2 separate regions of the Homo sapiens genome follow, and region 2 is linked to region 1. Evidence: promoter capture Hi-C in human tissues and cell types (Jung and others, 2019). All regions are on one chromosome and are shown on one strand. The core of a region is centred on a gene start or on the middle of the fragment in contact, and the rest is flanking DNA. Distances in the headings are between cores, read along the strand shown. Region 1 holds the start of ADO (2-aminoethanethiol dioxygenase). Region 2 overlaps ARID5B (AT-rich interaction domain 5B).

Region 1 (2,616 bases), core at 35-2,534:
TCCCAAGGCTGCCGAGGAAGCGGCTGCTGCTCATTCCAGTAGATCCAACGCCCAGGCTAGGGGGTAGAGACACAGCCCTTGTGGTAGGGTAGGGCACGTCTTCGGCCCACCGCTCCTGGGCGCCAGTGGCTTCAAGGGAAGACCTTGGGACCTGGATAGGGTTCTCCCTCGCACCAGAAGTCATCGGCCTGTGGGGTCTCCAGGAGCCACACCTCTCGAGGCAGGTCACAGGCCGAGCTGGAGGCCTCCTTGGGCCTGACCGGCTCCAGCACCCGGTAATAGTGGCAGTCCCGGCCATCGTCCGGGTCGTAGGGCGGGGCCAGGATGTCCAGGAAGGCGGCAGGCCCTTCCACGGCGTCGATCTGGTGCAGGTTGTCCCGGTGCGGTGTGAGGATGCAGGGGCCGCTGGCCTCGGTGTACTCGGCCCGCGAACGCAGCACGCCCGGCCGCACGGCTTCTCGCTCCCGGGGCTGCAGCGGCGGCTCGAACTGCTGCTCGGGCGGCAAGGCCCGCGGCCGTTGCCCGCCGCCCGCGTCTAGCTTGTCCATGCAGCTGATGCGCACGGTGCCGTACAGCACCTTGAGCATGCCGTGCATGCCCGGGTGGTCGTGCAGCGGGATGGACGTGCCGCTCTTGAGCAGGAACACGCCCAGGCTGAAGCCGTCCGTCTCGTAGATGTGCATGTAGGTGACTGGCGGCAGGTTGGGCGGCAGCGGCTGCAGTGTGGCCTTGCGCGGGGCGATGTTCAAGTCCTCGGCGCGGAGCTGGGTCAGGAGGCTCTTCAGCTTGCTCAGGTTCTCGGGGAAGCCCGGCTGCATCGGCGCCTCCGGGCCAGAAGCCGCGTCGCGATCGGAAGCGCCGCGGCCGCCCCCGCTGCCCCGGAAGGTGAGGCAAGCCTGGCGGGCGATCCGTTGGATCAAGGAGGCCATGTTGTCTCGGGGCATGGTCGGCTGCTCCTCTGCGTGCCGGGACCGGCCCCCTCCTTTCCTCCGCCCCTTGCGGTCCCCGGCGGCCGCCACGGCTGCCCCCAGCCCGGGTCGAGGCGGGAGGCCCCGCAACCACCGGCCCGTCGGGCGCGCGGCACCGCCGCCAACCTCAGCAGCCACGCGCCCGCAACTGCCCGGCGCGCTCGCCTTGAGCCCCCTCTGAGCGCGCACGCGCACGCCCCACACCCCGCACTCACGCTCCGGGAGCAGATAGCGGCCGCGCAGACGGTGCCAGGCTTTGCCTTACGCCCGGCGCTCCATTCATGCGGCCCGCACCTACGACGGTGGCCGGGCGCCCGGGGACCCTGCGGAGCATGCCGGGACTTGTAGTCCGGCCTTCCGCTTGAGCTCTGAGATAGTTCAGTTTGTTGATTGGAAAATAGAGGAACTATTACACATGTTGGGCATAAAGCGATCTTTTTCAGGATGCAGAGGTGTTTTTCTTGTTTTAGAAAAGATGAATCGGGGTGGAAGATTAGTAGCCACTTGACTACAACTCCCGGCACTCCCCGCAGGGTGGAGTGACGCACTTCCGTCAGCTGGCCCCCGGAGTAGTGGAGGCTCTTGGCCTTCATAAGGAAAGGGGCAGGGAGGGTCGTTAACCTTCTGGCGCCGCGCTGGGGCCTGGTTAGCCATGCAGGGTCGCCTTCCTTTGGCCTTGCCCCTGGGAAGGAGGCTGTTGAGTCAGCCTTAGCTCCTCGTAGCGGCCTAGGCAGCACTGTCTCCCACGGGAATTGCAGGAGGGCGCTTTTATAATTTTGTGTTTCCTAGGAGGGGAGGGGGTCCAGGCCGTCCTCTGTGATCATCAAGGTTACTCGGCCCAGCTGGGCCCAGCTGGGCCCAGCTGTTGTTTGCATCAGGACCTGATGACGCTGCTCTTCTGGTTACAGAGCAGTATAGCTTTTTGCTGGAGAGACTTGAGAGGCCATTTACAGTGGTCGTGGATTCTGAACATACTAGTGGTTATCAAATCTTGGTTTGCCTGAGAAGGGGGAGCGGGCTTTTATAAATGCAGATTCCCTGTCGTCACCCAGAGATGGAGTTACTAGATGGTTCTGAGGCATCCTAGGAGAAATAGTGGTGTGCAACAGTCAGTTCAGTCAGTAATTGTGAAATTGTTTCACTACACAGAGGCATCCTTCTCCTTGGCGTGAACTAACTTTTGGCATAAGTAAATGACTAGAAAAGCAAGACATTAGATACTATGACTTTAAACTTAACCCTGAGTTTAAAGTCTTTTTGGATTCCAAAGCTGAACATGGGTTTCTTGTACATTTTGTAATTGGAGTGGTTCAGTGAATCCTCTCCAGTTAAAATAGGCATACTTTTTAAAGTGGATTACATAACCTGGCTAATGAGTACTCACAATATGCCAGGCACTGTGTTAAGTGCATTATATAATGAATGTTATACTATTTAATCCTTGCAGCAACTCTTAAGAGGCAGGCACTATTATTATTCCCAGATTGCAGATGAGGGAATAAGTTGTAGGATAGTGAATACTAAGTACCCAGCAAAGCATGAGCAGCAGAGCAGAAATAAGTACAGTCTTACCAAAAACAGCAGCTTGAATTGGTGTAAAAGCACCAAACGAGAGTCAGGATATTGTTGTTCCAGCCTACTGTGTGTA
Region 2 (2,616 bases), core at 64-2,563, 820 kb after region 1:
CTCATCTTCTTATGTACAATAAGGAGAACAAAAGCAAGGGGCTTCCAGTGTTAGGTTACCATTTCCCAAGGCCAGCCAAATACCCTCCCACCTTTCTCTAACAGCTTCTAAGGCTTTGGAGCTGGAACAAATATTCTCATGCACAAGTTAGTGGAAGAGATTCTTCCAATCAAATTTCCCACCACATGATATCTTGGGCTAGGACGCTCTTTTATAAGTGTCAATGAGTTATTCCCTCATGGATAACGATGAAGAGACTACTTTTCTTTAGCTGTAAGAAATAATTTTTATCTTTGCTCACACCTTCTTTAAAAGCATTTTTTTTAACTCAGAATATATAAATACATCCTTGTTGTAAAAGACAAAGTAATGACTCCCTTGACCTCCTCGCAAACCCTTATACTTTAATGGAGGCTTATGTTTCCACTTCAACAGAGCCTTCTTGAAAACTGGAGAACAGTTGTTCTTGACAAGAAGGAGGCCAAGAAGAAAAGGGAAGAAAACTGGTCCAACAATTCTAGCTCGGTTCTGGGGTGTCTGACTTTTTTTAAAAAATCACCATGAAATAACAGCCCTCTTAATTCTTCTAGAATGTAATTTACTTAGCACAGAGGCAAAAACATCCCACCTATCTGATACACTGTGACAACTCAGAGCACACGGCAAGGATGCAAATCTGTGAAGACAGCCAGCTCTAATCTAACCCCAAGTCTCCAACTCTATACTGCTTCTTCCAACACGTGGAGAAGTGAGAATGATTACATTTTGTTCAAAGTGTCTCATTACATTGATTTAAATAAGATTTCCAAACCTGCAAAAAGAAAAACAGCTTAAAATGCCATTTGTCTTATACAAGACTCTATAAAAAGGCAGGTAGTGAAACCCTGCAGAAACCCAGGTTGGTGGGGACCAAAGTCTCTCCCACCATGGACGTCTGACAGGAGGATAATGGAATTTAGTAACACCTAGGTGAGGTGTTTCTTTTCTGCTTAATGCATCCTTGGATGACCAACATAATGTAACAGACAGGTGTTAAGAGACCTGCATTGAGGAACAGACATTGTGGGTTTTGAGATCATAAACTTGAGGAACTTGTTCCATCTCTGAGAAGATCTCACACACCTGAACAGGTAAGATAAGGTCCAGTTTGCAAACTGCCAAGCACACTTCCTGATGTTTATTAACACCACAGTCATTATGACATTTAATGCCAAACTACAGGGAAAAAAAAGATAAAAACCTCAGGCCAGGCATGGTGACTCATGCCTATAATCCCAGCACTTTGGGAGGCTGAGTCGGGTGGATCACTTGAGGTCAGGAGTTTGAGACCAGCCTGGCCAACATAGCAAAACCCTGTCTCTATTAAAAATATAAAAATTAATTGGGTGTGGTGGTATGCTCCTGTAATCCCAGCTACTTGGGAGGGTGAGGCAGGAGAATCGCTTGAACCCGGGAGGCAGAGATTGCGGTGAGTGGAAAGTGCGCCACTGCACTCCAGCCTGGGTGACAGAGCAAGACTCTGTCTCCAAACAAACAAACAAAACAAAACTCAGGCTACCCACCAAGAGTGTTCAGTTATTGCACTGTCCTGCTAGAATACAGCTGCCTTTGATTGAACATGCACTACAGACAGGCAAGCTCTAAGCCCTTGATGTGTATTTCATCACTGTAGCAATCCTATGAGGGATAAGTTTACTGCTTCCATTTTATAGATGAGGAAATTGAGGCTTAGAGAGATTAAGCAACCTGTTCAAGGTGACTCTGGAACCCAGGTCTGTCTGATTCCAAAGCCCACAGTCATAGCCACTGCTTATAAGTTCTGAGAGAGGCCTGTGCCCAGATGAACCGATGACACAAAGGCAGATGCCACGGAAGCAGCACTGAGAACAGACGCAAGGCAGTGGAGGTGCCCAGAGGAGCAACCTACTGGGTGAGTGATGATATTTGGGATACTGGCATCCTAGGAGACAGGACAGTAGTCACTGTCCTGGGAAGCCATGTTCCTCTCCATTCCTGTTCAGGGTCAGCACAAAACCTGTGATTTTGGAGGAGGCAGAAGGGGGGCCCATCTTGGGTTTGCCATTCTAGTTCCTTCACTACCAGCCAAGTGGAGGCAGATATTTACTGAGCACAGCAACACTTACTATTATTGTAAGAGAGGGCTTTGGAACCAGGAAGCTCGATGAATTTATGAGATCAGCAGCTATTTTTCCAAGATGGTTATAATACAATTCATTTCATTTGCAACTGGTTTAACGTGAAACATTGTTTAAGAGAGACAAATAAACAACAATTCACATTTGCTGGGCTTCTCTCCTCCCCACCCCTCCCAGTTGTTCCACAGGAAATTTTTTATTGATTAAAGTACAATTACATTAAGGTTGGGAAAAATCAGCCCCAGAATAAATCGTTTTAAGAAGAAATCAAGGCGATGCCTTATGAAGAGGCAGCATAAGGAGGAGAAATATGAAACAGGCACTGGATTTGTAACCATGGGCAAAGAAGGGCTTCATTCTCTGGCTCTGTAAAATGACAGAGTCACTGTCTTCTAGGGAGACTGTGACCAGGTAAAGACAGCACTGCCTGTGGCTTCCATTAGCCTCTAGGCACTTTGCC

The links. The method cuts DNA at HindIII sites, captures the fragments that hold promoters and counts their contacts. A contact is called where the count stands out against the background at its distance.
Region 2: a contact is called between a fragment that was not itself captured here and the fragment with the promoter of ADO in region 1, in 1 of the 25 tissues and cell types used here (dorsolateral prefrontal cortex).

Annotation. Positions count from the first base shown.
Region 1 is chr10:62,803,388-62,806,003 of GRCh38, reverse strand. ADO (2-aminoethanethiol dioxygenase) reads right to left here and starts at 1,284. Exons shown (of 1, transcript NM_032804.6): 1 at 1-1,284. The coding sequence starts at 944. The coding sequence ends at 132. RefSeq lists enhancers at 680-799, 1,270-1,529 and a silencer at 980-1,229. The HindIII fragment of the contact is 8,494 bases long and covers 1-2,616 here.
Region 2 is chr10:61,980,210-61,982,825 of GRCh38, reverse strand. All of the region lies in intron 3 of ARID5B (AT-rich interaction domain 5B), which reads right to left. Among named protein-coding and RNA genes, the nearest start is that of ARID5B, 80 kb to the right of the region's middle. The HindIII fragment of the contact is 6,104 bases long and covers 1-2,616 here.